Linked DNA regions of Homo sapiens: regions 2, 3, 4, 5, 6 and 7 are each linked to region 1. The links are contacts of gene promoters, found by promoter capture Hi-C in blood cells and fetal thymus (Javierre and others, 2016). All regions are on one chromosome and are shown on one strand. The core of a region is centred on a gene start or on the middle of the fragment in contact, and the rest is flanking DNA. Distances in the headings are between cores, read along the strand shown. Region 1 holds the start of WWOX (WW domain containing oxidoreductase). Region 2 overlaps GCSH (glycine cleavage system protein H). Region 3 overlaps CDYL2 (chromodomain Y like 2). Region 4 holds the start of CFDP1 (craniofacial development protein 1). Region 5 overlaps CENPN (centromere protein N). Region 6 overlaps CMC2 (C-X9-C motif containing 2). Region 7 overlaps ATMIN (ATM interactor).

Region 1 (3,042 bases), core at 543-3,042:
GAACTCGGCATGCAGAGGTTGCAGTGAACCGAGATCGCACCACGGCACTCCAGTTTGGGCGACGGAGCGAGACCCTGTCTTTAAAAAAAAAAAAAAAAAGGCCGGGAGCGGTAGCTCACGCCTGTAATCCCAGCACTTTGAGAGGCCGAGGCGGGAGGATCACGAGGTCAGGAGATCGAGACCATCCTGGCTAACACGGTGAAACCCCGTCTCTACTAAAAACACAAAAACTTAGCCGGGCGTGGTGGCGGGCGCCTGTAGTCCCAGCTACTCGGGAGGCTGAGGCAGGAGAATGGCGTGAACCCGGGAGGCGGAGGCTGCAGTGAGCCGAGATCGCGCCGCTGCACTCCAGCCTGGGCGACAGAGCAAGACTCCGTCTCAAAAGAAAAAAAAAAAAGAAAAACCCTCTGGAAGTGGGGCCCAGAAAAAGGCTCTTACAAAAAAAGTTTCCCAGATGCTGAAAATCAGATTTACATCCATGTTTCTCAAAACCAGGTGATATTCCACCTCACCTGGAAAGCTTAAAAAAAGAGACTCCCAAAGTTGAGAGTCGGCTACAGTAGGTTCTCTATGGAGACCCAAAACGTGTATTTAGGACATTTCCTAGGTGATTCTAAGGTGCCGATATAAGAGGCACTGTCGTATCTTAAGAGCAATCAAGGAACGACAGTTAAGGAACAGAGAGTACCTACTAGACACGGTGCTATGTGCTTTACGCACAGTGCCTGAACTGACCCTCGTATCAACCCATTTTACAGGTGAAAAAACCAAGATTAAACGTTATTTCAATGGCCCAAGGTCACACAGTTAAAGATGAAGGCTCTGCTGGGGTTTCCAAAACTTTCCCAGGAAATGATAGTGAAGCTATCTAGGACTGCTACTAAAAAATACTCCTGGCTAGGCGCAGTGGCTCACGCCTGTAATCTCAATTCTGGAGGCTGAGGCAGGTGGCCTGCTTGAGCCCAGTAGTTCGAGACCAGCCTGGGCAACATGGTGCGACCCTAGTCTCTACAAATACTTAAAAAATTAGTCGGGCATAGTAGTGCACGCTTGTAGTCCCAGCCACTCAAGAGGCTGAGATGAGAGGATTGTCTGAACCCAGTAGGTAGAGGCTACAGTGGGCTATGATGGCACCCCTGCACTCCAGCCTGGATGACTGAGCAATACCGGTCTGGACAAAACAAAACAAAACACAACAAAACTCCTATCCCTGCAACCCAGAGCCTGCAGGAGGGAGCTGAGCATGTGCGCTTTTTAAAACATCTTTATTTTTTGGCGGGGATGAGGCCGCTTTGCCCTCGCCGCGCCGCGCAGTGCTGCATCCTGAACAGCAGAGGGCGCGCCGGGAAGCCACCAGGTGACCCCCGCTGGACCCGAGGCCCACCAAGGGGGCCGGCCCCTACTGGGAACCCTGGACCCTTTTCCCTGAAGCTCCTTAACAGTTACTTTCACTTTGCACCGCACGCGCTGCGCTGGAGTGCGCGTCCTCCCCGCGCAGGTGGCGTCCGTGGGCTGTGCAGGGTCCCAGGTGCGTCCGCGGCCCCACTGCGGCCCCCTTACTTGGCGTAGTAAACCCAGCCGTCCTTGGTGGTTCTCTCCTCCCAGCCCGGAGGCAGCTCGTCCTCACTGTCCGTGTCGTCCAGCCCCGCGTAGCGCAGCGCTGCCATGGCTGACTGTGGAGGCACCTGGCCCCCCTATCGCCCGCTGCCGGGTCCACTCGCTCAGGAACTCACTCCCGCTCCAAACGAGACCCGCGCGCGTCGGGGCCCGACCGCTCACGCCTGCGCACTGCGCCCTCCAGGGGCCGCTCCGCCGACCACGAAGCTGAAATCCAGTCTCCGCAATATCGCGACGGCCGGCGTCAAAGGGGCAGGGCCTGGAGAGGAAGGCGGTGAAAGTGCCTAAGAGATCGCGCTGCCGCCGGGCTAGACAGCAAAGCCGGAGAGCGCTCCGAGGCGCTAGAGATAGAGCGGAGCCTTGTCAGCCTCCCCGCCGCAGGGAAGGGGCGTGCGCATCCAGTTTCGGGCCAGGACTCCGCCCGTTGCTGGGCGACCCGTAATCACTTCCGCGTTGTTCTGGCCAATCCTGCAGGAGCCCGGCAATTGGATATGGGAAATGTAGTCCAGGTGGCGCCTGACCAAAAAGCGGCGCCCGACTAAAAAGCGGCGCCCATGCTGTTGTCCTGGGCTTCTGTCTCTCCTTGCCTTGGGGTCTCGTGAAAGTCCGTGATCACAAACCTTCCAGGGCTTGCCAGCATTCGTGCTGATTCACAACCTTTGTTTTGCATATGAACACAATGTTAAAATATAACCTGGAGAACTTAAAACTGCTGATTCCTGATTTCCTGGTTTTAGAGAACTTTCTTTCAGCCAAAACACATAATAGAGACTGTGATAATAGAGACTGTTGTTTAATAGAGACTCATGATAATAGAGACTGATGATAATAGAGACTGATTGATAATAGAGACTGTTGATAATAGAGACTGATGTTTACGGAGCACTTAATGTGCGGTCCAGGCCAGAAATGCACAGACATCACATGTAGCTGACACCTTTGTGTAGTGGGCACAACTCAGACAGGGTAGCTAGGCCGGGCTCAGTGGCTCATGCCTGTAATCCAAACACATTAGGAGGCTGAGGCAGGAGGATCACTTGAGGCCAGGAGTTTGAGAACAGCCTGGGCAACATCGCAAGACCCCTGTCTTTACCAAAAATAATTATTTTTTTAGTTTGCCGGGCGTGGTAGTGCACATCGGTAGTCCCAGCTACTCATTGAGGCTGAAGGGGGAGGATCACTTGAGCCCAAGAAGTCGAGGCTGCAGTGAGCTATGATCGGGCCACTGCACTCCAGCATGGACGACAGAGAGAGCTGCTGTCTTTAAAAAACTGCCTCACCTTTAGAGAATTTCCTTTAGTAAGTCTGGAATAGGTCCAGAATCTGGAAAGAAAGGGAGGGAGGGAGGGAGGGAGGGAGGAAGGAAGGAAGGAAGGAAGGAAGGAAGGAAGGAAGGAAGGAAGGAAGGAAGGAAGGAAAATAAAA
Region 2 (3,275 bases), core at 362-2,861, 3.0 Mb before region 1:
CTTGTTAGCCAGGATGGTCTCGATCTCCTGACCTCATGATCCACCCGCCTCGGCCTCCCAAAGTGCTGGGATTACAGGCGTGAGCCACCGCGCCCGGCCGTTTTTTTTGTTTTTGAGACGGAGTCTCACACTGTCACCAAGGCTGGACTGCAATGGCATGGTCTCGGCTCACTGCAACCTCCACCTCCCGGGTTCAAGTGATTCTCCTGCCTCAGTCTCCCAAGTAGCTGGGATTATAGGCGCCCACCACCACGCCCGGCTAATTTTTTTGTATTTTAGTAGAGACCATGTTGGCTAGGCTGGTTTCAAACTACTGACCTCAGGTGATCTTCCTGCCTTGGTCTTCCAAAGTGCTGGAATTACAGGCATGAGCCACCACGCCTGGCCCAGAGCTTATAATTGTTATCTGATACAGGGTACTTCACTGTCACTGGAACATTCTAAAGTTTTCATTTTGTTTTTTTCTGAGCCACAGCTAAGTTGCAAGAACATGGAGTTTTACTGAACCTACACACATCTGGCATTCAGGCACATCACCATTTGTTATTTACTGTGTCCAGGACACACAGATAGGTCCACTTTATTGAGACAATATATACCCTTCTCGTGGTTATTATAGCCTGACAAAACTTATGGTTTTATTTTTAATTAAAGAAATGTAGGCCAGGCACGGTGGCTCACGGTTATAATCCCAGCACTTTGGGAGGCTGAGGCGGGTTGATCACGAGGTCAGGAGTTCAAGACCAGCTTGGCCAACACAGTGAAACGCTGTCTCTACTAAAAATACAAAAATTAGCTGGGCGTGGTGGTGCGCGCCTGTAATCCTAGCTACTTGGGAGGCTGAGGCAGGAGAATGGCTTGAACCCGGGAGGCAGAGGTGGCAGTGAGCCTAGAACACACCATTGTACTGTAGCCTGGTGACAGAGCGAGACTCCGTCTCAAAAAAAAAAAAAAAAAAGAGCCAGGTGCAGTGGCTTATGCCTATAATCCCAGCACTTTGGGAGGCCGAGGCGGGCGGATCACGGCATCAGGAGATTGAGACCATCCTAGCTAACACAGTGAAACCCCGTCTCTACTACAAATACAAAAAATTAGACGGGCGTGGTGGCAGGTGGGCGCCTGTAGTCCCAGCTACTCGGGAGGCTGAGGCAGGAGAATGGCATGAACCCTTGGGAGGTGGAGCTTGCAGTGACGTGAGATTGCGCCACTGCACTCCAGCCTGGGCAACAGAGCGAGACTCCATCTCAAAAAAAAAAAAAAAAGAAATTTGGAATTTTAAAATCATAGCTGTATGACAGGAATCTACTTTTTCGTATTTTATGTTTTCAAGTAACTGACTTTTAACATTTCATGTTTTCTTTAATTTTTTTTCCACTTAGATGAGTTTGGTGCTTTGGAAAGTGTGAAAGCTGCTAGTGAACTCTATTCTCCTTTATCAGGAGAAGTAACTGAAATTAATGAAGCTCTTGCAGAAAATCCAGGACTTGTAAACAAATCTTGTTATGAAGATGGTAAGCTGTTGCTAGAAATTTCTCAAGGAATTACTACTACAGTAAATATTTTATCTAGAATTTAAAGCAAGTTTAGCTGATTGTGACTTCATCTTTTTCTACTTCTTGGTACTAAATAGAGATGTTCTGCTTTAAAAGAAAAACAGAGGTTAGTTGAATACTTAAAGTTATGTTTAAGATTTCTGGCTAGGCGCAGTGGCTCGCGCCTGTGATCCCAGCACTTTGGGAGGCCAAGGTGGGTGGATTGCTTTAGTCCAGGAGTTGGAGACCAGCCTGGGCAACATGGTGAAACTCTGTCTCTATAGAAATACAAAAATTAGCTGGCTGTGGTGGAATGTGCCTGTAGTCTCAGTTACTAGGGAGGCTGAGGTGGGAGAATTGCTTGAACCTGGGAGGTCAAGGCTGCAGTCTATAGTGAGCCAAGATCGCACCACTCCACTCCAGCCTGAGTGACAGAGCGAGACCTTCTCAAAAAAAGAAAAAAAAATCTCTGATGATAAAAGCATTACCTTATTTTGCAGTTTCTTGATATCAGTTGTAGATTCTTTGGTTTTGGTGTAAACATCTGCAAAGTATTTACTTTTTCAGACATAAAGCAGCCACTCATATTGTGTGACATGGGAGGTAAAAAAATATATATTTTGCATTAATTTTTGGTTTTCTCACATTTTCACCCTTATAATCTAATCAGGTAAGCTAACAGCAATTTTCTCTATTTTGTAGATGAATAGAGGCTCCAAAGGATTTATCTGTCAGGGTCTCATGGCTGATAAATGGCAAAGCTAGGATTAGGTTGTAGTTCTCTTTTGTCTGTCACCTAGCCCTTCTAATTACTACTGCTTTCTAATCCCGTTAACCTCAGTAGTTAGTGTTCCATTTGTTAAAGACATACCTGGTCTTGTGTATTTGGATCATATATTTAAGGACTTATTTTTATTATTTTTTTGAGACAGAGTCTCCCTCTGTCGCCCAGGCTGGAGTGCAGTGGCGTGATCTCGGTGCACTGCAACCTCCCCTTCTCGGGTTCAAGCACTTCTTCTGCCTCAGCTTCCCAGTAGCTGGGATCAAGGGCAACTGCCACCACGCCCAGCTAATTTTTGTGGTTTTGGTAGAGATGGGGTTCCACTATGTTGGCCAGGCTGGTCTAGAGCTCCTAGCCTCAAGTGATTTGCTTGCCTTCGCTTCCCAAAGTACTGGGATTACAGGCATGAGCCACCGTGCCCGGCCCTTAAAGATTTAAATGTCATTTTCTGATGCTTATTACAACCTAAGAGTTCTTAATTTATTATGGTGGAATCTATTCTAGCCATAATTATTTTCATTTGTTATATACAAGTATTTTAATTCTTAAGGCTAAAATTTAAAGTTCTATGAACAAATAATGTATGGTTTTTGTAAAGAATACAAGATTGAGGCGCTCAGAAATTTATTTTACGTTTTGGATGAATTTGACTTTTTAAAAAGTTAATGTGGAATATAAGGTTGTCTTTTGGTTGCAGGTTGGCTGATCAAGATGACACTGAGTAACCCTTCAGAACTAGATGAACTTATGAGTGAAGAAGCATATGAGAAATACATAAAATCTATTGAGGAGTGAAAATGGAACTCCTAAATAAACTAGTATGAAATAACGCAAGCCAGCAGAGTTGTCTTAAATTAGTGGTGGATAGAAGACTTAGAATAGAAACTTTTAGTATTACCGATGGGGAAAAAAAAACTACTGTTAACACTGCTAATGAAAGAAAATGCCCTTTAACTTTCTAA
Region 3 (3,261 bases), core at 167-2,666, 2.7 Mb before region 1:
TAAATTATGAGACCTGTTTATTACTTTCATTAAATATTATACTAAAGTGTACATAAAATGGCTTCTCGCAATCTCTACTCAAGAAACCACGTTTTTAGTGGGCCAAGAGTTCTTACGTTTGTAATTGATATATTTCACCTGTGTGTCTGCTGACATTATCTTTGAGCCTTTATGGTGAAGTGTGATTTGGATTGTAGAGATTCTTCATCTTTTCTTTGGCATTTCAGACAATTAAGTTGTAAAGAGTGAACCTCCATAAAGCAGTTGTTAGGAATAGGTGCTGATTTTTAAAGACACCAGAAAACGAAAACTTTGTTTATGTAATAGCACTCTTCAATCATAGTGAAGAAATAAGAAATCAAGCTCAGGTTCCAAAATCTTGGATCTTGATAGATAGTTCTGGTTTGTTTCTCCTGTAGTGGAGTTCTCATCATCTTCTGGTGCATTGTAGCCATCACTTATAGGAAGGTGATTTTAAATTTTGGGTTATGTCTTAGAGTCAGGTATCTGTCTGGATCGAAAGTGAAATTTCTTAGCCAGATGCCCTGGTCTATATTCGGCTAAACATAGGGGCCATGGAGTGGCAGCCTGTGAGCCAGGTCTAGGCTGCATACGCATTTTGACTTGGCTCAATGGTAGATAAGAAAAACGATTTGAACACTTTTAGATGGAGCATATGATCTCTAGCTTGTCCCTGTCCCCTTGCTCCCTATTACCAGGCACCCATTCTTCTTAAATCATTCACTGGGCTCCAGTAGACTTTAGAGTTTGCAACCTGATTCTAGTCAATCTTTTGCTAAGATGTTTGGGTGTCAGGAAGAAATAATCAGTGGGATAGGCTCTCAGTTTTCTTGTCTCTCTCTGGGTTTCTACCTGCTTGTACGTTCAATTACTTGTTGACTGAATCAGTGAGCAGAAGACTGGTTTAAGTATATAAAGTACCCTTGTGTGACCTTCGTTGTCCTTCTGTTGAGTGTTACCCTCTATTGTCTTTTTCTTTCCCAAGCTCATGGCCTCTTGGTGGTGGTAAAACCGTGTGTAGGGGTGGCTCAGTTCTCTCTCTGTAGGGAAGTGTCCACAACTATCCATTTTTTTTTGGATCTTTTCGGTTTGTGGTTGGTTGAATCCACAGATGTGGAACCCATGGATATGGAGGGCTGACTCTATCTGCACCTGGCATTCTGCAAAATCACGCACCACTAAGAATAACAGAGTTTATGGGAAAAACAGGATTGAGGCAGACCGCTAAAGAGCTGTGGAACTTTTTTTGCAAGTTGGTCTAGCCTTTGCCGTGTCCACATTGAGCTTTGCTTCCCTCTTGTCTCTGTGGATTGCACAGGGCATTTGCTTCTAAGAGAGACGATTTTATTGAAATTAAGTCTGATCCAGGGTGTAGCCTTCTTCGTTTATCTGTATAAGGAGAAATGTTTTCATAGCTGTTCTTGCAGTTTTGCCATGAGGTCAACATAGTGGAAAGCATAGTGGTTCTTGAAGCTAGAAAATCAGCCACTATTCATGTTAAAGAAAGGCACTTGAGTGCATTTCCAGCTTTGTTCTGAGGTCTTCACACATTGTTAAGTCTTTCTCTTTCCCTGTGAGAGTGCTTACCTTGATTGCTGCAAAGTATAAACAAGCTAGGAAAAACTGCATATGAACCCACACAGACGTCATTCCTCTATTTACGAATCACACCTGAGGTCATTCCTGTCAAAGAAATACATGTACTAGCAGAACTGATGGTCTGTGGTACAGCTTCTTGAATCTCTGTACCAGTATTTGAAGAGGCAGCTATCTTCAGAGAAAATGTTATCAGTTGGATTGGATTGATTCTTGGGCACGTAGAAGACACCTGATGAATATGGAATGAGTATATGATTCTCCCACCTCTTGAAAGTTATTTTAAATTATTCCCTCTGGGCAGGCATCAGCTTATTTTCAAGTAGGCTTTTATGTCAGGTCATTCCTTAGTGCATGAGATAATTTCTTCAGGGGCTTAAGCTGTCCTAGTAAGGAGTTGATACGGCTCCTTGCAGCCTGGCCAATTGCTAAGAAGTGGTTCAGGCCTGGTGATTATTAAAGATCTTTGTATTGGAGGCATGCATTTAGATTACCAAGATTTGGATCCTTCTGTTTCTCTCAGATGGTGAAAAGAAGTGTGGGTGTGGTTGAATTCATAGCACCATCATTCATTTGTTATTTCATATTTATAGACCACCAAATATATGAGAGGCACTTGGGGAACAATGATGATCACGTCCTCCAGGAGCCCAGTGGGAGATATAGTTAAGAAAACAAGTATTTTACGGTACAGTGGGGAAGTGTTAATAGGGATGATGGTGTTCTCTAGGAGTTGCTTGAGAATATTATCTTTTCTGTTTTTGAAAGCATCTCTAAAAAATGAAAGCAAAAAAGAAATAATATCTAAGAGAACTATTGTTATATATTTAGCATGTAATTGATGTTCAATAAATACTAATGTGATATCTGAATTAATTAAAATGTTAGCTTTTGGGGGTAGTTACAAAAGTAGGACTGGGTTTGTTTTCTACACATGTTTATGTAATTTAAAAAAACCAAATCGGGATACTGGGTACATATTCTTTGTAACCTATTTTATTTTCACTTAAATATCTATATATCTATATATATCTATATATAGATAATGTAGGTAAGCATTTTCTCAAATGCTAAAATATTATTTTGTGTTATGAGTTTTAAATGACAGTTTAATTTTCCCTTGAATGTACCATGTTTTCTATAACTAATCCCCTGTTATCGGACATCTAGATAGTTTCCATTTGTAAACCATTATAAATATTGATGTTATGAACATCCATAAACACAATTATGTATTTGCATATCTTACTAGTTTCTTCAGCATAAACAATTTCATATACAGTGAAATTGCTGTATAAAGTTGGCCGTTGGACAATACTTGGATTAGGGGCACTGATCCCCTTTGATGTTGAAAATTCACATATAACTTTTGACTTCCCAGAAACTTAACTACTAGTAGCATACTGTTGACTGGAAGTCTTACTGATAACATAAACAGTTGATGAACATATATTTGTATGTTATATGTAGTATATACTCTATTCTTACAATAAAGTAAGCTAAAGTGGAGAAAATTTTATTAAGAAAAATCATAAGGAATAGAAAATATATTTTCTGTTCATTAAGTGAAGTAGATAATCATAAAAGTCTTCCATCTTCATGGCATTCCCATTGTGTAGACTGAGGAGGAGGAGGAGGAAGGGG
Region 4 (3,257 bases), core at 596-3,095, 2.7 Mb after region 1:
TGCCCCGATTGAGGGGTTGGATGAGAGACTTAGTGTTTGGGGGCATAAAAAGAACTCCTATGTTGGCGTGTGCATTTTCGAGTTCTTTGCAGCAATGGATTGTAGCATTATCCAAAATTAACAAAACCTTGAAGGTGCCCGGCGCGGTGGCTCACGCCTGTAATCCCAACACTTTGGGAGGCCGAGGCAGGCGGATCATGAGGTCAGGAGATCAAGACCATCCTGGCTAACACGGTGAAACCCCGTCTCTACTGAAAATACAAAAAATTATCCAGGCGTGGTAGTGGACGCCTGTAGTCCCAGCTACTCGGGAGGCTGAGGCAGGAGAATGACGTGAACCCGGGAGGCGGAGCTTGCAGTGAGCCGAGATTGCGCCACTGCACTCCAGCCTGGGCGACAGAGCGAGACTCCGTTTCAAAACCAAACCAAAACAAAACAAACCCAAACAAACAAAAAACAAAACAAAACAAAACAAAAAACCCTTGAAGGCAAGGTTTCTGCCCTGGAGACAGTGTTCAGCTTCTGGGATGAAGCAGTTGTGGAACCAATCAGACATCATCCACACTTTTTTGTTCCACCTCCAATAGACTGGCAGATGGTTCACGTATTTCCCGTTAAGTGCTTGTGGATTTTGGGTTCTTTACACCATTAGGAGTTTGCACTTTAGTCGCTCTTGGCATTGGCGCACAATAACAAGGGTGCATGATCCTGGCATGATTTAAAGCCAGGGGCTTTGGAGGCCGTTTGCATTATATAGGTTCGTTTGCCAACATCCTTGTAAAATAAGCCAGTCTCATCCGCATTGAAAACCTGCTCTTTCACATAACCCTTTTCCTGTATAACACTTAGCAAGTATTTTTAAAATTCTTCCGCAGCCTCCTGATCTGCAGAGCTCGCCTCACCTGCAAGTTTAACATTTTTCACCCCGTATCGCCTTTTGAAACGCGCGAGCCGGCCAGCACTCGCCGAGAAGGGCTTAGCATTTCTTTGACTCTGGGTAACGTGACCACAGATATCTTTGGCTTTCAGCCTCACCACAATGCTGTCCACTATGTTTTTTTTAATCGATTGACATCTCATGAATCCACAAATTTAGCCGCTTTTCCATCTTTTCCATCTTTGTCATAGCTTCATCACGCACGATGGAGGTCACTTCAGCACTATCCGGAGCGGCCTCACGGACAGATCGGTGAATTTCCTTTTCCTTTTTCTTGATGTACCGGATTGTCGACTCGTTAACATTGAGCTCATGGCCAACAGCACTGTAACTCATGCCTGATTGGAGCTTATCCAACACGCGGACTTTCTCCGTAAGGCACATCACGGTCTTCTTTCGCTTAGGAACACTGGGCAGAGCTTAAGCACTACGCTTGGGGGCCATTTTAGAAAGCAAAACCACCCACAAAAAGCAGAAAAAAAAGTGTCAGTAAACAGACTGCGGAAAGGACTCTTTGTTTACAGCACAGGAGCTGCGACTAGAAGGCGGCGCTTCTCCCAGTTCAAACTTCAGCTGGGAACCTTACCTCCGCCAACTCCAAATTTTCACCCTCTGCGCATGCCCGGGAAGAACCCCAGACAGTACCGTGATGATTGATTTTAGGGTTACAAATACATTTTAGCAAGTAAGTGAATTTGGCATTACGAATTAATGATTAATGAAGGTCACCTGTATTTCCATAGATATGTAATTTTATTTAAGCAGGTTTATTATATTAAGGCGGCGAGGCAGCGCCGAAGACTACAAGTTCCAGCATGCACCGCGTCCGGGCGGGTTCGGGCTCCCAGCGAGGGCTTCAGGGACGCCAGCCCGGAGGCATCGGCCGGAAGTGTCGTAGGGCAACCACGTAGTACTCTCTGCGCATGTGCAAAGCGCTGTCGGGGGCCGCCCTAGCTGCCGTCGCCGCCGCCGGGGCTCTATGGTCTCTCCCTAGAGCTTTGCCGTTGGAGGCGGCTGCTGCGGTCTTGTGAGTTTGACCAGCGTCGAGCGGCAGCAACATGGAGGAATTCGACTCCGAAGACTTCTCTACGTCGGAGGAGGACGAGGACTACGTGCCGTCGGGTGAGCGATTCCGCCTGAGGCGAGAAGCGAATTGCCCCGCCCCACGCCTCACGTGAGGCGCGCTCTGCCCCCGCGGGCGTCTGCCCTGTGGCCCAGGTGGTCCAGGGGGGCTCCTGTTCTCGAGCGTCCGCTCCCTCAGGCCCCTCATCCTCGGCCGCTCCGGCCCGAGGCGTGTGCGCGTGGCGGTTCTGTGCTCCCCTCCCGTTGGGCAGCTCCGGCCGCCGCCCCCTCTTGCAGCGCGGGAACCGGCACATGGACACGGCCCCTTGTCGCTAGGGACGCTCGTCGGTCAGCCCCGAACGACACCGCTGCTTCAGAAGTCGGGGCGGCAGTCCGAGCCTTGGAGGTTTTTTTCAGCCCTGGCCCGAGAGAGCTGCTGGCCACCACCCCGTCCAAGATAGAGCTGTCCGCTCTCCGCCTGGTTGTTAGAAAGTTCTGATAGAAAGTTCCCCCTTTGATGCTTTTTGCCTCATTGTGACGTCCACCCATCCTCTCCTCTCAGAACTTTCTTTCCTTAGGGATCTCAACCCGAACGGGGTGAGAATGAATCTTACTGAAGAAATCTTTCTGTTCCCCCTTCTTGGTCTTCCCCAGACAAACCGTCTCGTTGAAAGTATCTTCACCCATTCACATCTTCAGTTGAAAGACTAGACAAACAAGAAACAAACAGACTAACAAAACACAACCCAGGAGTCGTCCCTATTCTCTTTGTTTTACTTTGTTCTGTTCTGTTTTATTTAAAGACAGGGTCTTGCTGTTGTCTAGGCTGGAGTGCAGTGATGCGATCTTGGCTCACTGCAACCTCAGACTCCTGGGCTCAAGCGATCCTCCCGTCTCAGCCTCTGGAGTAGCTGGGACTGCAGGTGCAGGCTGCCACGCCCGCTAATTTTTTAAATTTTTTTTTTTTTTTTTTTTTTTAGAAATGGCATCTTGCTATGTTGCCCAGGCTGGTCTCGAACTCGTGGGCTCAAGTGATCCTCCCACCTCAGCCACCCAAAGTGCTGGGATTACAGGCATGAGCCACCGCGCCCCGGCTAGTGAAGTATTTCTAAAAGGCACGTTGAAAACTAGCCATTCCATTCCTGGCGCGGTGGCTCATGCTTGTAATCCCAACACTTTGGGAGGCTGAGGTGGGTGGATCACAAGGTCTGGAGATCGAGACCATCCTGGACAACATGGTAAAACCCCGTCTGTACTA
Region 5 (3,384 bases), core at 1-2,500, 2.9 Mb before region 1:
ATATTTAGCTTCAAAAGATAATGTGAAGTTTCTCTAAAGAGAAAACAAATTCTAGTGTGATCAGGTGATTTGGAAGCTGAGATCTACAACACAGACTCCAGTGACTAATGAGTGGTATAAAACACAATACAATTATAAAAAGATGACTGTGAGGAATTTTTATTTTCCTTTCATGTTCACTAATTGCAAGCTTTCTTCATTTCGGTAATATCTAAAATGATCTCCTCTTGTCGGAGGTAGATTTTCCCAGTAGCTTCTAACTCCTGTGTCAAAGAGAAAATAAAGATTTACCTTTAAAGAGAGTCACTGATTGGCTCACCTGATTATACTGTTTAAAAACAATAGCCTTAAGAGAGTCCAGATACCGACTTCTCAGGTCCATTTTCACAATCTGATGGTGTTTGCTAGCAATTGTCAGCGCCTTGAAATGAAAATTTGCAAGACTATTACTAGGATTACTGCCTCTGTGTTTATAATACTTGTCAAAGTAAAATGTAAGAGCTGCAATTAGGGAATAGTTTCCCCGTAAGTGTAAAAAGAAGTCTAGAAAAACATCTGATAGCCTGTTACTGAGCTTCAAAAACAAAGTGGTTAATGGCATTAATACTCTGATAAATGCAGTCTTTTGTATCATTTCTTAGAAAAGCGATCCTGTTTAAAGTTAGGAGTTACTAATAAATCAAGTTCAGACTTTGGAATAAACAATAAATACTCAAAATGTTACTGTTTTTGAATATCAGTCATCTAATACCATAATGATATTGCCATACAAAAACGCAGATATGTATGCTTTTTGGCAAATACTGAAGAAATAAGTGTGTATTGAATACAGCTCATAAGAGTTTCCTGTCATTAGGGGAAAAGAAGACTGAAACAGAATTACTATGATAGGATAAGATGTTTAACCTGATCTAGAGAACAGACAAGTTTGCCTTAAGATACACAATAGAAATGAACATTAGTCCGCGCAGTGGCTCACGGCTGTAATCCCAGCGCTTTGGCAGGCCAAGGCAGGTGGATCACTTGAAGTCGGGAGTTTGAGACCAGCCTGGGCAACATGGTGAAACCCCACCTCCACTAAAAATAGAAAAATAAGTTAGCCAGGCATAGTGGTGAGTGCTTGTAGTCCCAGCTACTTGGGAGGCTGAGGCAGGAGAATCGCTTGAACCTTGGGGGTGGAGGGTGCAGTGAGCCAAGATCGCCCCACTGCACCCCACCCTGGGTGACAGAGTGAGACCCTGTCTCAAAAAAAAAAAAAGAACATTAGCCTTTGGGGTAATGTTTAAACTACCTGTGGCAAGGTGTACTCACCTGGCTATAAGTGGATGAAAGACCACTATGTATCATGGAGCAGGAGACCCCAAATGTAAAGAAGTGTTTTAAGGAAATAGAAGTGAGTAGCAGTCTTTGCCATTTCAATAAACCACCAAAAAACTTAAATGACAAGCAAGTAGTCATTTACTACCTAGGGCTCGCCTGGTCACAACAGTGGAGTCCTTGGTACTCCACACCGCACCTCCACCCCACTCTGCTGTGGAGTGACAGGACATGATGCAGCCAGGATGGTGGAGCTGCTCGCCTACAACCAGCTGATGTGGCAGCTCTGGAACCAATTGAAGGTGCCACTGAGGTTGTGAATGCTAACAGTGGTAGCAGCAAGTGCCAGGCCAATTTAGGGAGAACTAACTTTGGGGAAAGATGCTAGGAAGCCTGTGATATTAAAGGCAGAACCATAAAGAGAAGCAGGCTCGGAACAGAGGCTACATCTTATGTGAAAGCAGTCTCCTTGTGTATGGAATGTGGGAGAAATGGTTACAAATGAAAATAATGTTCATTAATAAGCAAATTATACAATTATGAAAAAGTAATGAGGTATATTCATTTGTAACCACGTGGAAATGTTATGTTAATTTTTTTTTTTTTTTAAGACGGAGTTTCTTTCTCGTTGCCCAGGCTGGAGTGCAATGGTGCGATATGGGCTCACTGCAACCTCTGCCTCCCGGGTTCAAGCAATTCTCCTGCCTCAGCCTCCCAAGTAACTGGGATTACAGGTGCCCACCACCACGCCTGGCTAATTTTTTTGTATTTTTAGTAGAGACAGGGTTTTACCATGTTGGCCAGGCTGGTCTCAAACTCCTGACTTCAGGTGATCCACCTGCCTCGGCCTCCCAAAGTATTGGGATTACAGACATGAGCACCGCGCCTGGCCTACCCTGGCTTTTCTAATAACCATCTTGTCAAAGGAAATAGCAAACTTTGACAGTAGTTATTTTGAACGAACGGAATAGGGAAAAGGGGTATGAAGCTTTGAAGACTTTTTATCTTTAGAGACTTCTGTATCGGTTGCATTTTTTTATATTAAGTATGCATTATTTCTAGATCAAAAAACAATAAAATATAGCTCCAATCTAATATCTTATGCCATGTTCCCATCTGCAGATAACAACACTCTGTTTCTTATTTTAGGAGAACAAGAATTACATGTGGTATTCTATATCTTTTTTTTGTTTTTTTAGAGGTGGGGTGTTGCTTTGTCTTGTGATCGCAGCTCACGGCAGCCTTGGACTCGTGGGCACGAGCAATCCTCCCACTTCAGCCTCCCAAGTAGCTGGGACCACAGGTACATGCCACTGCACCTGGCCTAGTATTCTCTATCAAATACTTATTCAACAGTTAAAATCTATATAGACCTTTGAGATAGGATAATAAAATATTATAGCTTGTAATAATTTTTTCCATACCTGACCCAGAAGCGGTGTATTGCGCCTCAGCATGGAGGAGGACGTGAAGGCGTACGGAGTCTGGGAGTAGTACACCACGTAGGTAGGTTTGTACTGGTTTGGCTTTGTGTACTGTGTTCCCCAGGCAATTCGAATCCAGACTGCATTCTCCTCAGTTTCTCTGAAGCTGACTGTCACCTTATTAAAGAAAAAAAAAAAAGGCTTAATTTCCTAATTAAAATTTCACTGTGGCACCAACTCCAGGTGCTTATTAGGGGTGAACAATGATGTCCCTATACTCTTGTATGCAGGTTGAGACCTGGCAGTCTTTTCTGCTTTTCATGAGTATTTTGAGAATCTTTGGGAAAACATTTTGTGATTTTAAAAAAAAAAAATCCTTTTCAGTTCTTTTTTTTTTTTTGAGACTAGGTCTTGCTCAGTTGCTCAGGCTGGAGTGCTGTGGCATGATCATAGCCTGCTCACGGCAGCCTCAACTTCCTGGGCTCAAGCAATCCCATCTCAGCCTCCCTAGTAGCTGAGACCACAGGCACGTGCCATCATGCCTGGCTAATTTTTTTAAAAAAGTTTTTTTTTGTAGAGGTGATTGTTTTTTCAATAATTTCTTGGGCTTGTCCTGAAAACTGTTCCTCCTTACGTAAGAATT
Region 6 (3,148 bases), core at 586-3,085, 2.9 Mb before region 1:
TGTTGGATAAGGGATAAGGTGAGTGTTTAGAGCTTTAGGTTAAGTAGTAGCTTCTTACCAAGAATAGGAAAAGGAAATGAAATTAAACCATTTTATTCTTTGACATAGTCATCTAGGCTAAGAAAGTAGAAGGGCCTTATAAATATATACAATTATTATTTGTCAATTCAAAGTAAAACTAAATAATGTGAATTAGAAGGGAAGACGTTTTATTGGTACCCTACCCTGATTGACAATAGCATATGTATTTGAGGTAAACTTGTTATAGAGGGAGGAAAATATGTACCATTTTATGTACTTAGGCTTATATACATCTTTGCATCTATTAATATTGTCTCAGTCAAGTGTCTTCTCAGGTATTTGTCAATTAAAGAAATCATTTCAGTACATCATAAGCTTGTTTCTGAATTGTAAAGGCACACATTTGAGTGCCGGTTGATAGAAATGTGCAAAAATATTTTGTCAAATACATTTAGAAAATGTTAGAGACATTTTCTAGTGATTAAACCAGTGTCTGTTTTCTGTTATTGTTGTTTTTGAGATGGAGACTTGCGCTGTTACCCAAGCTGGAGGTCAGTGGTGCCATCTTGGCTCACTGCAACCTTGCCTCCCAGGTTCAAGTGATTCTCCTGCTTCGGCCTCCCAAGTAGCTGGGATTACAGGCGCCCACCAACACGCCCAGCTAATTTTTTGAATTTTTAGTAGAGATGGGGTTTCGGCATGTTGGCCAGGTTGGTCTTGAACTCTTGACTTCAGGTGATCCACCTGCCTCAGCCTCCCAAAGTGCTGGGATTACAGGTGTGAGCCACCGCATCTGGCCTATACCAGTGTATGTTTTCTTTAGGAAAAAATAAGGCAGAAACCAGAAAACTAACACTTCACATAAATGTAGGTGCAGAATATTGGTACGATATTGGATAACTTAAATTGCTGAACTGTATGAAACTTAATTTTTCTAAGGCAAAAATTGATATCATTGGAAGGATCTTGGAGTCAGTGGCAGGCAAACAAAATTTAAACTTGGCTGCATTTTCTTTTTTCGTTTCAAATGAATACTTAACTAGGTGCAATGGCTTTATTTGTGGTCTTCAGCTGTGGTGTGTGTGTGTGTGTGTGTGTGTTTAGTAGTTACTGAATAGTACAGGGACCTACTGCATTTTTATAAGTTGCAATTGAAATAGTAGCTATGCTATAATCCTTTGGAATTATTTGTTCAGACAGTTTTTTGTTTCTGTTGAGTGGGAGGTGGATGGGCAGTTTGAATTTCTCACAGGTTTTTTTTTAACAGCTTGAGGTATAATTTACATACCATAAAATTCGCATGGTGAAATGCACGTAACATAAAATTTACCATCTTAACCATTTAAATGCACAGTTCAGTGGTATCAGATACATTAATAATGTTGTGCAACCATCACCACCGTCCATCTCCATAATACTTTTTATCTTGTAAAACTGCTTGTTAAACAGTAACTCCCCATTCATCTCCTCCTGCCCTTCCACCTCCCTCTGGTAACCACCATTCCACTTTCCGTCTCTTTGATTTTGACTACTTTAGGTGCCTCGTATAAGTGGAATGTTAAAGTATTTGCCTTTTAAAAAATATATAATTTCAAATTTTATTTCAGATTTTGGATATAAGTAATGTGCAGGTTTCTTACATGGGTACATTGGATGACACTGAGGTTTGGGGTACTGTTGATCCCATCATGCAGGTAAGTGAGCATAGTACCTAATGGTTTTTCAGCCCTTACCCTCCTTCTACCGTCTATTAGTCCCCAATGTCTTTTGTTGCCATCTTTATGTCTGTGAGTATCCAGTGTTTAGCTCCCACTTATAAGTGAGAATATGCCATATTTGGCTTTCTGTTGCTGCGTTAATTCACTTAGGATAATGGCTTCCAGCTGCATCCATGTTGCTGCAAAGGACATAATTTCGTCCTTTTTTATGGCTGTTTAGTATTCCATGGTGTATATGTACATATTTTCTTTATCCAATCCATTACTGATAGACACTTAGGTTGATTCCATATCTTTGCTATTGTGAATAGAGCTACAAAGAACTTATGAGTGCATGTTTTTCTTTTTGTAAAACGGTTTATTTTCTTTTGGCTATATACCCAGTAATGGGATTGCTGGATCTAGTGGTAGCTGTTTTAAGCTCTTTGAGAACTCTCCAGACTGCTTTCCACAGTGGGTGAACTAATTGACATTCCCACAACAGTGTATAAGCATTCTCTTTTCTCACAACCTCCCCCAGCATCTGTGTTTTTTTGACTTTTTAGTAATAGCCATTCTCACTGATGTGAGGTGATATCTCATTGTGGTTTTGATTTGCATTTCTCTGATGATTAGTGATGTTGAGCATTTTTTCATGTTTTTTGGCCACTTGTATATCTTTTGAGAAGTGGCTGTTGATGTCTTTTGCCCACTTTTTTTTAAAATTTGTTTATTTGTTTTGTTTTTTCGAGACGGAGTCTCACTCTGTTACCTAGGCTGGAGTGCAGTGGCGCCATCTTGGCTCACTGCAACCTCCGCCTCCTGGGTTCAAGCGATTCTCCTTCCTCAGCCTCTCGAGTAGCTGGGACTACAGGCGCCCGCCACCACACCCGGCTAATTTTTGCATCTTTAGTAGAGATGGGGTTTCACCATATTGGCCAGGCTGGTCTCGAACTCCTGACCTTGTGATCTGCCTGCCTTGGCCTCCCAAAGCGCTGGGATTACAGGTGTGAGCTACCGTGCCCAGCCTTTTGCCCACTTTTTAATGGGATTATTTATTTTTTACTTGTTGAATTAATTTCTTTATAGATTCTGGATATTAGACCTTTGTTGGATGCATAGTTTGTGAATATTTTGTCCTATTCTGTAGGTTGTCTTTATTCTATTCATAGTTTCTTTTGCTGTTTTGAGATCTTTAATTAGGTTTCAGTTTTTGTTGTAATTGTGTTTGAGTACTTAGTCCTAATTCTCTTCCGAAGGTGAATGTCCAGAATGGTGTTTCCTGGGTTTTCTTCTAGGATTCTTATAGTTTGAGGCATTCTGTGTAAATCTGTAATCTATCTAGAGTTAATTTTTGTATATGATGAAAGGTAGGGGTCCACTTTTATTCTTCTGCATATAGCTAGCCAACTATCCCAGCACCATTTATT
Region 7 (2,970 bases), core at 304-2,803, 2.9 Mb before region 1:
TTGAATGTGTTATTTCAAAAGAGCTGTCTTCAAATTCAGAAATTCTTTTTATTTTCTGGCTGGGTGCGGTGGCTCACACCTGTAATCCCAGCACTTTGGGAGGCTGAGGCAGGCAGATCACCTGAGGTCAGGAGTTCAGGACCAGACTAGCCAACATGATGAAACCTCCTCTCTACTAAAAATACAAAAATTAGCCAGGCGTGGTGGCAAACACCTGTAATCCAAGATACTCAGGAGGCTGAGGCACGAGAACCGCTTGAACCCAGGAGGTGGAAGTTGCAGTGCAGCAAGATGGCACCACTGCACTCCAGCCTCGGTGACAGAGGGAGACTCTGTCTCAAAAAAAAAATGGAAAATTTTTTTTTTTCTGCTTGATCTAGTCTGCTGTTGAAGCCCTCAATTGTATTTTTTATTTCATTCATTAAATTCTTCAGATCAGATTTCTGTTCTTTTTTAAAAATATCTGTCTCTCTTGAATTTCTCATTCAGATCAAGAATTATTTTGCTTATCTGTATTCTCTTGTGTCTTGCTGAGCTTCCTCAAGATCATTATTTTGAATTTCTTTTCAAGAAATTCATAAATTTCTATCTAACTTTGGGGTCAGTTATTGGAGAATTATCATGTTTCTTTGGTGGTGTCATATTTGTTTGCTTTTTCATGTTTCTTGTGTTCCTATGTTGATTTCTTTGCAGCTGATGGATCAGCTGCCTTTTCCAGTTCTATGCAGTGGCTTTCATAGGGAAAGGCTTTAATGTGCAGATGGGGCCTAAGTATCAGTTGAGTAAGGCACACTGGCTTTGGTTCTGTATGGGTACAGTAGTAGTGTGGTCTTCATGCAGGTTCTTCAGCTGTAATCAATGTCAGCAATGCCTGCAAGTGCCTCAGTGGCCTAGGCTGCAGTAGACTGTGTGGCTGGCATCCTGGGTTGAGTATGGCTCCTTTGTGGATGGAGTATCGGCTTTTTACATGCTGAGGGGATGCAGGGCTGGTCCACTGGCTTGAGCTTGGCTTCCCCACTGAGCAACACTTCCTGTTCCTTTGGAGGCAGGGCACTGCATGGGCCTGGGTGCTAGGGTCATGGCTGTTCTGCTAGGCCTAGGTTCTGAGTAGTTGAGTTCAGGACTGTGCTGCCGCGAGGATGGTTAAGATGGAGCAGCTCTTGGGCAGCTTGTTCCCAAGGAGTAGGGAGCTGTAGCCCCTCAGCTGGGGGATGCTGCACTGCTGTGTGTGAGATGGTGTAGTGATAGCAGAACCTCAGGAATGGAGAGATGCAGTGGTTACTGTCCCCTAGAGCAGTGGGTCCAGGTTGAAAATGGTGCCATGCTGTAGTAGCTTGGGTCACAATGTCGGCTTTTTCTCTGCAGTAATGCAGTCATGTGAATTCGAGGATGCTTTCTAAACTGGGCTCAGGGCTTGAGAGAACTGCAGGATTCTCCAGCAGAAAAGACTACAGGTGTCTGTGGTGGTAATGGGACCTGCTGGCGACCTTCTGCCTTCCTTTTCCCCCAGGCAGAAATCCATCTTGGTTCTGAGCTCATCCTGACTGGGGAGACGGGGTGGCAGAGCAGGGTATTTCACTCCCTTCTCTCTCTGGCCGTCCTGAGTCTCTGTGTGCCACAGGTTCTCTACCACTCCCCTGATATACTCCAGCATTTTTTCTTTTTTTTTTTTTTTTTTTGAGACAGAGTCTCACTTTGCCATCCAGGGTGGAGTACAGTGGTGCAGGCTTGGCTCACTGCAACCTCTGCCTCCCAGGTTCAAGCGATTCTCCTGCCTCAGCCTCCTGAGTAGCTAGGATTACAGGCATGCACCATCACGCCCAGCTAATTATTGCATTTTTAGTAGAGATGGGGTTTCACCATGTTGGCCAGGCCAGTCTCGAACTTCTGACCTCAGGTGATCCACCCGCCTCAGCCTCCCAAAGTGCTGGGATTACAGGCACGAGCCACCATGCCAGGCCTCATTTTCTTTTAGATACTCTAGTCAAAATGTATTCTATTTGTTGTTTTGGTCCTTTTCTGTGGGGGCAACAAGCATTAGGGACCTCTAGTCAGCCATCTGGCTGGTATTACCTGGAGTGTCTTTTCTAGGAAAATTGTCTGTTAGCATATTTTCATGAACAAAAGAAAAAACAATGAAAATAACTGGGTATTATTAAATAAAATCATTTTATCATATGGCTTTCAAAAGACAATGAGTGAAAACTTAAGGCAATACAATAAGTCATATTTATGAGTACGTTCAAGAATTCACAAAAAAGGGTACAATTCTGGCTTCTCTTTAATCATTAAATTTCAGTTTTTACAAATAATTCAGGTTCAGGTTTTGAGGGGGAAACAGTTCTTGTATTATTACATGCTCATTTTTCTTCTGTAAATGACTCTATTGGCTAGATTTACAAACATTGTCACAGAAACAAATTTTTTAAGCCATAGATCACTGCATTTATATTTACAAAAAAGCCATAAACATGCATTTCTCCTTTATTAGGACTTAAATAGATGCTTGAATATTAAGGCAGTGATGATTCTAAAACATAATGAAATTCTAAGTTAAGGCTTTATGTTTCTTTTGAAACCCACACTCATAGGCAACTGTGACCAAACCAAACTCTTACCTACTAGGTTGAGCTCATCTGCCCGGGATATGTTATTTATCCATTACCAACACTTCTTTTGTGTCAAATGTATGGGATAGGAATTAGTAGCAAAACCATCAATTTACTTTAATGAATCATTAGTCCCCTTACTAGGTTTTGAGGATTTAGCTTTCAGTAATACAGGCATGTGCCACAGAAAGGAGCATGTCGTGTGTGTGTGTGTGTGTGTGTGTGTGTGTCAATGTGGAGAACTTACAGGCTGCACTGATTCCTACTTGACTGGAACTTAGCCAACAATTAAGAATCCAGGATCTCCTAAATACAGAAAATCCCCAAAGCATACTTGATCATGCTCCTACCTCAAAACACA

The links. The method cuts DNA at HindIII sites, captures the fragments that hold promoters and counts their contacts. A CHiCAGO score of 5 or more calls a contact.
Region 2: a fragment that was not itself captured here is called in contact with the fragment with the promoter of WWOX in region 1 in 7 of 17 cell types (non-activated CD4 T cells, activated CD4 T cells, naive CD8 T cells and 4 more); the score reaches 20.3 in non-activated CD4 T cells.
Region 3: a contact is called between a fragment that was not itself captured here and the fragment with the promoter of WWOX in region 1, in 6 of 17 cell types (activated CD4 T cells, non-activated CD4 T cells, total CD4 T cells and 3 more). The highest score is 19.0, in activated CD4 T cells.
Region 4: a contact is called between the fragment with the promoter of CFDP1 here and the fragment with the promoter of WWOX in region 1, in 5 of 17 cell types (activated CD4 T cells, naive CD4 T cells, monocytes and 2 more). The highest score is 8.5, in activated CD4 T cells.
Region 5: a contact is called between a fragment that was not itself captured here and the fragment with the promoter of WWOX in region 1, in 6 of 17 cell types (total CD4 T cells, activated CD4 T cells, naive CD4 T cells and 3 more). The highest score is 8.4, in total CD4 T cells.
Region 6: a fragment that was not itself captured here is called in contact with the fragment with the promoter of WWOX in region 1 in 10 of 17 cell types (non-activated CD4 T cells, naive CD8 T cells, total CD4 T cells and 7 more); the score reaches 31.7 in non-activated CD4 T cells.
Region 7: a fragment that was not itself captured here is called in contact with the fragment with the promoter of WWOX in region 1 in 3 of 17 cell types (naive CD8 T cells, non-activated CD4 T cells and total CD4 T cells); the score reaches 8.9 in naive CD8 T cells.

Annotation. Positions count from the first base shown.
Region 1 is chr16:78,098,404-78,101,445 of GRCh38, reverse strand. WWOX (WW domain containing oxidoreductase) reads right to left here and starts at 1,792. Exons shown (of 9, transcript NM_016373.4): 1 at 1,561-1,792. The coding sequence starts at 1,667. RefSeq lists an enhancer at 1,059-1,558. The HindIII fragment of the contact is 3,217 bases long and covers 523-3,042 here.
Region 2 is chr16:81,082,699-81,085,973 of GRCh38, reverse strand. GCSH (glycine cleavage system protein H) reads left to right here. Exons shown (of 5, transcript NM_004483.5): 4 at 1,380-1,511; 5 at 3,011-3,275. The coding sequence ends at 3,108. Among named protein-coding and RNA genes, the nearest start is that of C16orf46, 7.1 kb to the right of the region's middle. The HindIII fragment of the contact is 4,810 bases long and covers 1-3,275 here.
Region 3 is chr16:80,798,411-80,801,671 of GRCh38, reverse strand. All of the region lies in intron 1 of CDYL2 (chromodomain Y like 2), which reads left to right. Among named protein-coding and RNA genes, the nearest start is that of CDYL2, 4.6 kb to the left of the region's middle. The HindIII fragment of the contact is 5,077 bases long and covers 1-3,261 here.
Region 4 is chr16:75,432,091-75,435,347 of GRCh38, reverse strand. CFDP1 (craniofacial development protein 1) reads left to right here and starts at 1,845. Exons shown (of 7, transcript NM_006324.3): 1 at 1,845-2,059. The coding sequence starts at 1,996. LOC124903723 (tigger transposable element-derived protein 1-like) reads right to left here and starts at 144. Exons shown (of 1, transcript XM_047435019.1): 1 at 1-144. The coding sequence starts at 46. RefSeq lists enhancers at 1,239-1,806, 1,350-1,859 and a silencer at 2,170-2,409. The HindIII fragment of the contact is 10,360 bases long and covers 1-3,257 here.
Region 5 is chr16:81,019,634-81,023,017 of GRCh38, reverse strand. CENPN (centromere protein N) reads right to left here. Exons shown (of 11, transcript NM_001100624.3): 6 at 2,742-2,918; 7 at 320-421. CENPN-AS1 (CENPN antisense RNA 1) reads left to right here. Exons shown (of 4, transcript XR_007065134.1): 4 at 2,517-2,726. Among named protein-coding and RNA genes, the nearest start is that of CENPN, 14 kb to the right of the region's middle. The HindIII fragment of the contact is 2,115 bases long and covers 193-2,307 here.
Region 6 is chr16:80,999,815-81,002,962 of GRCh38, reverse strand. The region is part of intron 1 of CMC2 (C-X9-C motif containing 2); the gene reads left to right. Among named protein-coding and RNA genes, the nearest start is that of CMC2, 5.5 kb to the left of the region's middle. The HindIII fragment of the contact is 2,873 bases long and covers 399-3,148 here.
Region 7 is chr16:81,046,531-81,049,500 of GRCh38, reverse strand. It overlaps ATMIN (ATM interactor), which reads right to left. Exons shown (of 4, transcript NM_015251.3): 4 at 2,151-2,970. Among named protein-coding and RNA genes, the nearest start is that of CENPN-AS1, 7.7 kb to the right of the region's middle. The HindIII fragment of the contact is 3,345 bases long and covers 1-2,970 here.